Linked DNA regions of Homo sapiens: region 2 is linked to region 1. The links are contacts of gene promoters, found by promoter capture Hi-C in blood cells and fetal thymus (Javierre and others, 2016). All regions are on one chromosome and are shown on one strand. Each heading gives the region's core, a stretch centred on a gene start or on the middle of the fragment in contact. The rest is flanking DNA. Distances are from core to core; before and after follow the strand shown. Region 1 holds the start of SMYD3-AS1 (SMYD3 antisense RNA 1). Region 2 overlaps SMYD3 (SET and MYND domain containing 3).

The links. Contacts are between HindIII fragments. The CHiCAGO score rates a contact against its expected background, and 5 or more counts as called.
Region 2: a fragment that was not itself captured here is called in contact with the fragment with the promoter of SMYD3-AS1 in region 1 in 1 of 17 cell types (megakaryocytes); the score reaches 6.1 in megakaryocytes.

What each region holds. Positions count from the first base shown.
Region 1 is chr1:246,106,127-246,111,112 of GRCh38, forward strand. SMYD3-AS1 (SMYD3 antisense RNA 1) reads left to right here and starts at 2,500. Exons shown (of 4, transcript NR_183265.1): 1 at 2,500-2,591; 2 at 3,656-3,767. All of the region lies in intron 5 of SMYD3 (SET and MYND domain containing 3), which reads right to left. RefSeq lists enhancers at 3,925-4,426, 4,427-4,926. The HindIII fragment of the contact is 2,656 bases long and covers 678-3,333 here.
Region 2 is chr1:246,213,640-246,218,625 of GRCh38, forward strand. All of the region lies in intron 5 of SMYD3 (SET and MYND domain containing 3), which reads right to left. Among named protein-coding and RNA genes, the nearest start is that of SMYD3-IT1, 110 kb to the right of the region's middle. The HindIII fragment of the contact is 2,846 bases long and covers 633-3,478 here.

The sequences.
Region 1 (4,986 bases), core at 1,250-3,749:
CATGGAACCATGTTAACCCATATCCGGAAAATTAATAAACCTCGGATGGGTTTAAGCACTCAAAATACTCCTGATACTTCTTGCCATTCATTACATTGTAGACATCCTTTGCAACAGGAGAATCCTCCTCAAAAGACCACGACGGCAGCAGATAAAATCCCTGAGGTTATAAGCATACAACAAAATGTCTCATTTAAGATTACTGCAGTCTGAAGCCAGGAATTAAATTTGCTGAAGGTGCAGTCACTTATGCCTTAGTTAAATAAAGATAGTCCCAAAACTGATTTCTGAACTTACCCATTTCTCAAAGGGAGTGCAAAATTATCATGATTTTTAAACAGCAAGGCGAGTAAACTGATCGCCTCTGTATCTGCCAACTGAACAAATGAGTCAGCTAATCAGTGGTTACATACATCACACTGACAGAGAGGAGAGAAGACCATTAACTTTCTGAAATGAGAAGTCCTAATATACCGAGGTGCCACAAGTCACTTAGGATTTCCGTGGTTATGAAAGAAGAATTGAAACGTCTCTTCCCTCTGGTGGGTTTTCACAGCACAACTGCCACAGCTTCCAACTGAGGTCTAGTCTCTGACCTTCCCTCTTCATCAATGTTATCAGCATCTGGAAGCCCTCTGGCCTATGTGGAGCCATGGGGACAATGGAGGCAGTTTCAAAGCTTCTGTCTTATGACAGAAAACCTGGGTGTAAAACAACCTCTGATATGAACTACTAAGGGACTTGTATAGATTCCTTAAACTCTCCGAAACACTGTTCTCAACAGCAAAGTGAGGAGAAAAACAGCTCTCAAGTAGGGTTGGTGTGAACGTGAAAAAAGAGAAAGTAATACAAGAGTTGGGCATATAATAGGCTCTTAAAAAGAATTTTGAAGGCCGGGCACGGTGGCTCACGCCTGTAATCCCAGCACTTTGGGAGGCTGAGGCGGGCGGATCACAAGGTCAGGAGATCGAGACCACGGTGAAACCCCGTCTCTACTAAAAATACAAAAAATTAGCCAGGCGTGGTGGCAGGCGCCTGTAGTCCCAGCTACTCGGGAGGTTGAGGCAGGAGAATGGTGTGAACCTGGGAGGCGGAGCTTGCAGTGAGCCGAGATTGCGCCACTGCACTCCAGCCTGGGTGACAGAGCAAGATTCCATCGCAAAAAAAGAAAAAAAAAAAGAATTTTGAAATGGAAATGTATCTATTTTTCCTTTCTTTAGAAAACAAACAGAAAATGAAGCCAACATATCTCATCACAGATTGCTCTTTAAATATGCGACCTTATACCAAAAGCAGACAAGTTCACAAAGAGATTATTTTTATAATTTAATCACAGAAAAGACTAGACTATCAGGTAGTTGGTGGCTACAGAAGTGACTGCTCCCCACTGAAGCAAGGAATGGATAGAATAAGTCCTTGAAATAAATGCTCAGGTCTTCCCTTAGTAATTCTGGACAGTGGGGAAATTAGCTCATTCAAACAAAGTTTATTAAATAAATAAAATCCCAGCACTTGTCTCTTTAGACAAAAACCACATGGAAACAATACAAAAGATTGCTAATGCTTTGGCAAATGAATCACTCTTCCAAATGCCATTTACAAAAGCCCACCAGACCTCCAGCTGTGCTGATGCCATGGGAACCCCTAGGGCAATTATAAGTGGATTTAACTCAAGACCAGAAACACAGGAGTAATTTTTAAAGACCCAAAAACTTCCAAATAAATAAATCTGGAAAGGAATTACTGTTTACACCACAGAGCCACAGGTTCAAATAGCCAAACTTAAAGAAGAAAAAACACACATGTATATATCTACTTCATCATGTAATCTCTGAACAATAGGAACTTTACTGAGTTGTCACTAAGGAAAGAGCAAAATCTAAGATAGGTAGTTTCTGGAAAATGAAAGTCCAGAGAAACTTGGCCATAAAATGAAAATTATAACGGACTTACAGAGCTCGTCTTCTTTGGGTTAAGAAACAAAGGTCTTCTTGTGCAAAGGAAGAATTCGAAAGAGGAATTCTTAAGTAGATGGCTGATGCATCCACGTCTAAACATCCAAAATCTACCAAGCACCTATTACATAACTAAGCCCTGTGTCAGAGGCTGTGGAACAAGAACCACTAAAACTTATCTCTGACCTCAAGAAGTTTATAGTTCAGGGAAGTGACTGACAATCATAATACAGAGGCATAAGGGCTATCCAAATAGGGTCACAGGTTACGCTATGAATACAGGTATCACATCAGAAAATTACCGTACTTAAAATCTCAGCAAAGAGATCACACCCTCACACAATTAATGTTATCAACATCCATCCAGTCTCTCAAGCTCACCCTCTTCAACAATCTTTGCTTTACTGAGTTCCGGGTGGACTATTTAAATATCATACAAATTGATTCTGACATCACAATCACTGCCTGCTTCCTAAAACTTGCCCTCCACCGTCTATTATAAATGCTTTCCAATCAGTGCTCCCATTCTTCATTCTATTCACCACTTAGTTACTAGAATGTTTTTCTCAACTATGAATCTGACTTCACTCCCTTTCTTGAAAACCTCCTGTAGTTCCTGTTGTGTACGGGATAAAGGTCAGACAACTTAGTATAGCCCAGCTCAGTCCAGCTAGCAAAGCAAATACTAGCTTTATTCCCTGCAAGCAACGTAAGACAAAGACAACCACACTAAACTCAGTATTAGCAGACCACCATCCTCCCTGAGGCCTCCACTGCTTTGCACACACTCTTCTCTTTCTCAGAAGGTCCTTTCCCCTCCTCCTGTTGGTGCAGCCAATTCTTTCTCTTCCTTCTAATGCACCATCTTCTGTGTAGTCTTCTTTGACACTAGGTAGGGTTACATCTTTGCTCTGTGTTTCTATAACACTCTTCATATGCCATGGAACTGCATTCATTATATTGGTATAATTTTATTTGTCTTTTTTCTTCCTAGACTGTGAGCCCCTGGAGTTCAGGGACCATTTCTTAATCATATTCCAGAACCTATCACAATGAATGACACGAAGAATATATTTGATAAAAATCTGATGAATGAACCACTCTAAAATGCAACTCTAATAAAGAAAATTACTGCCTATTCAGTTGGAACTGTACCATGTTACAAACGTAAAATTATGTATAGTCTGATAAAGAAATACTATAATAGCCTTGGAAACAGCTCACATACAATTTTTTTTATAAATGGATTCATTACCATATAACTGGACCAGCTTACTGAAGAGTAGCCCTACAGCAGTCACTTCGCAGTTTGCAATTCATTTGAGGTTCAAAGCTAGCTCAAGGGAAAACAACGTTAGTATTAACAAACTTATTTTTAAGCTTAAGGTCAGAATTTAAGGGAAAATAAATAAATATAGTATGTTCTAAGAATCCAAAGGAATTTTTAAAAATTGCCCCCTGCAGCTGTAATTTCTGCATGGATGAGAAAACCTTAATTGCTTGCTGGCTTCCAAGAAAGCCATTAACCTGCATTTAAAAATTCAGCTTTCATCAAGAACAACCTCACATATCCAGCTCTCATGGAAAAAGGAATAGAAGCCTCTGACCTAGTTTTCAATTATTACCAAACTACTGATAATTGATCTCCTGGTCTCCAGGTTTGTTTGTTTTACTAAAATAAATTCCCTCTGGAGCTGCAGGTGCTTACCATGGGGCTGCGCAGGTGGAAAGCAGCCCAGTCTTACTATGAGGATGTCCGTTTGCCATCTGGGAACAAGGAGGAAGAAGCAGAGACCTGGGCAAGACCTCAGAGTAAGTGTCCTTTTTGGCGGCTCCCAGGGGTCCCCATCATGTGTTATAGGAAGGCAGAATTATTTGAGATAAGGATAGGAGCTGAAATAAGCAGTGCTAATACTGGTTAAAAGTTGGTGCTTCAGCTGCAGTCACAACAGATAATGTCTCTTCAGTTATATTTCCAAGCTATTTCTCATTTGGCAATGTACACTTACACCAAAACTGTGAAACTCTCGGAAGTGGCAGACCTTGGCAACAAGTGAATGGAAACTGTGAATTACAGTACATGCCACTGAGTAAGGGGTGCACATCTAGAAACCAGAAATCAGGTTCTGTCTTGGCTCAGCGTCTAACTAGATGTGTGGACTTAGACAAGTCATTTAACCATTGGGGATTCAGTCTCTTCATCTGTAAAGAGTTCATTTAGATGATCTCTTAAGTCCCTAAGATCCCCATTGTTAGGTCCAGGGTCAGGTTCCAGCCCATGCTGAGGCCGGAAGGGAGTGGGTAGATGAATGGCAGACAGCTGAAAGAACACTCAGGGGGCTACGGGTAGGTGAAATACAATTTTATTCAGCAGCTCTCTTACACTGTGTGTCTCGGCTGCTTGTTCCAGCCACTCCCAAGCACAGATCTCTGCTGGCTCTCTCTCCCTTTGGGGTCAACAGCTTAACTCTTTCCCTCTGAGCGCAAGCAAGCTGAGCTGTGTCCTGGCTCCCCGCTGCAAGACAGACAGATCTGGTGCTCTCTCTCTTTCTTTGGGTGCAAGCACGCCTGCACAGTGTCACCAGGGCAATTATACCTTTTAAAGACAACAGTGGCAAAGAGCCAAGTGATGGCCCTCCCATGTTATGGCTACATAGCTGTTTATATTACACATGGAGTTGCGCGCCTGCGCTACAGACTTGCTGAGTCACCCGGGATGTTTACCTCAGCCCATCCTGCCTGGCTGCAGTGCAGCCATGTTCCTTACACCTACCAATTTAAAAGTACTGTAATTCCATTTTAAGGGTTCTAAACCATGAACCATGTTCATGGTTTAGGATTTTAGATATTTCTCATTTAAACTTAGGAGCGAACTCTGCATTAGGACATTTCTCCTTTCATTGTCCATAAGATAACTCACCAAATCCTTGCGCAAAGAGAAACAAATATAAACTACATAAGAAATGACAGGTGAGCCTTACCAAGGACCCTGACCCATGCATAACATCTTAGTATAGCATATATATATATA
Region 2 (4,986 bases), core at 806-3,305, 110 kb after region 1:
GGACAGTGGCCCTGTTCAAAGGTCAAAACCAGTCCCACTCTGATGCTCCCCTCCCTGGCTCCATTCTCACTTCAGCATGATGATCTTCTCATGGTCCCTGAGAATATCTTAGCATCTGTAATGGCCATCGGCCATTGAGTAAATCCCAGTTTTAAACTTGCCTATAAAGAACGAACTTAGTGTGCTTTTCTGCTGCTTTCTCTCATTGAACACAGTTCTTTCTCTTCCTTCAAGAAGAACCTTTCTGAAGCACCTTGAATTTCCTAGTTTATAATCTCTGTGAACTCCTGCTATCAAGAGCTCTGCAGAGCTAGCTTCCATAACCTGTCCTCTTTGGTGACTCTCTCGTAACACCAAAAGCTCCCTTCTAACACCAACAGGCAAAAGATGGTCATGGTTTAATATTTTAGGTACTGTTCCAGAATTAGCCAGACTGTGGTTCTTAATGTTTGCATCTGTTTGTTTACAGAAATGGTGGTATTGATCTAATGGAACACTGGAACTTGGTCTTTACAATGGCAAGTTGTGGATGATAAGGTTGAAAAAGACAAGAGAGGAGTCTAGAAATCCAGTCAGAGATTAGATTTCACATCCCAGGTCACAAAATGGTAGGGAGATAATACATTTGTGAAAGCTTTATTTGGTAAAAGAATGCAAGATAACCAAAGAGGAGACAAATGTCATAGCAATCCAGCTATGAGTTGTGTACTCTGTGCTGGAATGGTAAACCAAGCATGGCAAGATATCTCAAAGGAAAAATGAACAGAACTGTCAATTAACTGTATATGAGGTAAAACAAAGGAAAAAAGACAAAGAGATGAGTTTTGAAACCAATATGTTGAAGCTCATAGTATCAGCTCATTTATTTAAGTGAAATATATGAAGGAATTGTTTAAAATAAAAACCAAGGAATTTTTAAAATAGCATGCCAAAGTAAGTAAATACATAATAAGTATGCCTCCAAGAAGTAAGGCTAAGAGAGAAACCAATTTAGATCAGTGGCCTCTTTCAGGAAGAGAGAAGGTTCTGCCCTATCCAGCATTTTCTATAAGGACAAGAGAAAATATTTTTTCAGTCTTCCAAAGACAGCTACCGGAATATTTAGGAACAGTCCTAAAAATCAAGAAACAGAATCTTCTGAATATGGAGGAATGATCATTAAAACAAAGAGGAATGGAGAATAGCAAAGCCATTTTGCAGCTAAACTTGCTGAGCCCCAAAATTATCCACTCATGTTTATGTTAGCAGTACTATAAAACTTATATATATGCTCTATTATCAAATACATTTTTCCACTTTCTAGTAGGTAAAATTCATGGAAACACTTAATTTTCTTTATTTATGCAGATTTTTACCTCTCTAAAAAATGCTGCTGCTGAGCTTTCTATTTTTGTTCATTCCAGTTGAAATGCGATGATTCATCGGTCATCACCACAATGGCCACACGCATGTGGAAGAGAAGCTCATGATTCTAATCTGCACAGTTGCTGGCGGCTAGATATGCCTAAAGAGGATGTGAAACAGCAGCTTCACTTCCAATGGAGATCCGGACAGTAATAAAACAGTTTCGCAATCTCTTCACTAAATACATCTTTGTTTGCATGGTCTATGTATATTGTCATGGGGCAGGTGCAGGAAAATATAAAATATACATATTTAAAATCCTACTGAGCTGCTGTGAAGTCAGTGACAAAGAAAAACACACACACGCTGGGGCTTCATGCATGTAGTTAAATAAATAACTTTGAGATCATCAAAAAGAGTCAGCACACCCATATTTCTTACTTGGCGCTCATTACTGTTCAAAGACACCATTTTTTTTTAATGCTGAGCCATCTTAAAACTTTGTCAGGCAACATTAAATTCTTCAAGTCTTAAGCCCTAAAGAAAGTTACCAGTAATGGGCAGTAACATTAAGTTAGCTTTGCATTTAAGAAAAAATATTTATCCATCTGCCTTCTCCCACAGAGTACTTTGGATCACTCTCAGTGGCCATCGTTCTCTGTCCTGTCTTCATGCAGCTGGGCTGAGCAGCAGCATGCCACAGAAAGGGGCCAGCGGAACTCAACTGTCCAAAGAAATGTCCAAACTGCTTCTGTTACGTAAAGCCAATGTCACTTTCCTTTTTTAAAGGAAGCCCTGGGGTGTAATCCTGCCTGAGATGAGTCCACTGACACGACAAAAATCTAAAATGTGTAACTATTTGGAGGAAAGTCAGTGTGTATCTTCCACTTGAAAGGTATAATTCCTTAAAAGGGACATAAAAATATTTTTTCTATTGTATACTCTAACAGTCAATAACTCACAAGGAAACCGAATAGAGAGCGAAAGATGGAGCACTCTGGACTAATGTGAAAAACAAACTCAAGGCCGGGCACGGTGGCTCACACTTGTAATCCCAGCACTTTGGGAGGCCAACAGGGGCAGGTCATGAGGTCAGCAGTTCAAGACCAGCCTGGCCAACATGGTGAAACCCCGTCTCTACTAAAAATACAAAATTAGCCAAGCGTGATGGTGCACACCTGCAATCCCAGCTACTCAGGAGGCTGAGGCAGGAGAATCGCTTGAACCCGGGAGGCAGAGGTTGCAGTGAGCCGAGATAGCGCCATGGCACTCCTGCCTGGGCAGTAGAGTAAGACTCCATTTCAAAAAAAAAAAAAAACTCATAAGCAGACTTCAGGAAAATGCCAAACAATAAAATACATCTCCATATTGGACAATATGGTGACCCCAACAACCCAGATAGACGCACTGACAAATATCTTCTAAATGCATCAGTACATTGTTTGTACCCTCATTTGGGGAAAAATATGCAAAAAAGATACCTAGGAACAAGTGGGAAAATCTGATATGGATTAGGTATTACAGAAAATATTAGAGAATTGTTACTAATTGTCTAAGACGTGCTATGGCATTGTTATAAAAGAGAACGTCTTTGTTTTTAGAATGCTAACAATTGATGAATCTAGGTGCTAAATTTCTGGTTGTATTCCTTCACCTTTTCTGCATTATTGAAAATATAATAAAAAATGAAGAAAAATAAAGGCATAAAAGAAGTTGTATTTAAAAAGAGAACATTAAAATAAAATTCATGATTTAAGTGATAAGAAAGAAATATCCTTAGAGTATTACAGTCAAGTAAAGATACCAGGCCAGTAAGTAAACTCTGAAGCTAGCTTTCTCACTAGAAACATTTAGCTAACCTGAGGATCCTGAACTTTCCCCTTGACGGAGACGTGGGCACAAAGCACTGGAGGCTGTGTGTGGGCCTCATCCAGACTGGAAAGTCTAAAACCAAACTCCTGAACAGACCTAGGATTTTCCAAGGACTATATGCTGTGAGTTAGAATCACTGTAAATTACAAAAAATCTATTCCACACAAGGGAGAGCAAAGAAGTTCTCAATCTAGACCCTAAATACTGGACAGAGGGGGATAATTTTTTTCTAGACTCATAAGCAGAAGTTGGCATCTAACCAAGCTTGTAGCCTAAATTTATATTATCTTTGTGGGAGAAGAAACCTCAAGCCCAGAAATTAACCTGAGCAGGATCCAAGGTTGTTAATGCCTTAGTTATCCATCAAAACAAAAGGCAAATTCACTCAGGGTGAATACACCTTCAATCCAGGCCTCAAAGAATTTCTAAAGAGTGTGAACTTACAGCTTAAAAAACAAAATCACAAGCCAGGGTAACGTAGGGAGACCCTGTCTCTACGAAAAATTAACTGGGCGTGGTGATGTGTGCCTATGGTCCCAGCTACTTGGAAGGCTGGGATGGGAGGATCGCTCGAGCCCGGGAGGCAGAGGTTGCACTGAGCCGAGATTGTACAACTGCACTCCAGCCTGGGTAATAGACCAAGACCCTGTCTCAAAATATAAATAAACTAAAAATTCTCACAAAGAAAACAAAGAAACAAAGATCAGTGAACAAGACTCAGCAGAAGTATTATATTGCTGAATCAACTCACAAAGAGTTTCTAATTTGGTATTATCAGAATTTAAAGTAAATATGTTTAAGATGTTTAAAGGAATAAGAGATTGAAAATATGAGGAAGGATAAAGAAAATTTTTTAATGTCTAGCTAGGAAAAAAAATACCATCTAGAAATGATAAATATAATTGTAATTAAAGTGCTAATGTAAAAATTGGCAACAGTTTTTAAATCCCACAATGTCAAATGCTGGTGAAGATGGTTCAGTACGAATGAAGTCAACTTTCAGAAACAATTTGACATTATCTAGTGAAGTTGCAATAAGCATACTCATGGCCCAACAATTCCATTACAAGTTATATATCCAAGAAAAACTCCTGTACATGTTCAATGGAAGATAAATACATGAATGTTCATGGCAATGATATGTGTAACAGTTAAAAACAGAAAATAAATAAACTATGGTACATTCATAGAAAACAATACAGCGATAAAACTGAATGAGTTGCAGTTACATGACCATCACGAATAAATCTCAGAATACTAGGTCAAAAAAAGAAAGTAGACAAGAATACGTACACTCTGACATGAGTAAAGTTAAAAACATACCAAATTATAACACATAAAAAACTGATTTCAATACATACAAGAAAACCTGTTAAAAAAAAAGCCAGTGAAAGGAACATAAGATTCAAGATAGTGATTATTTCGTGGGGTGGAGAGGGAGATAAGAGAGAGAAGCAGTTGTGCAGCTTTAAAAGTAGTGGCAACAGGCCGGGCGCGGTGGCTCACGCCTGTAATCCCAGCACTTTGGGAGGCCGAGGCAGGCGGATCACGAGGTCAGGAGATCGAGACCATCCTGGCTAACACGGTGAAACCCCGTCTCTACTAAAAATACAAAAAATTAGCCAGGGGGTGGCGGGCGGCTGTAGTCCCAGCTACTCTGGAGGCTGAGGCAGGAGAATGGCCTGAACCCAGGAGACGGAGCTTGCAGTAAACCGAGATGGCGCCACTGCACTCCAGCCTGGGTGACAGAGCGAGACTCCGTCTCAAAAA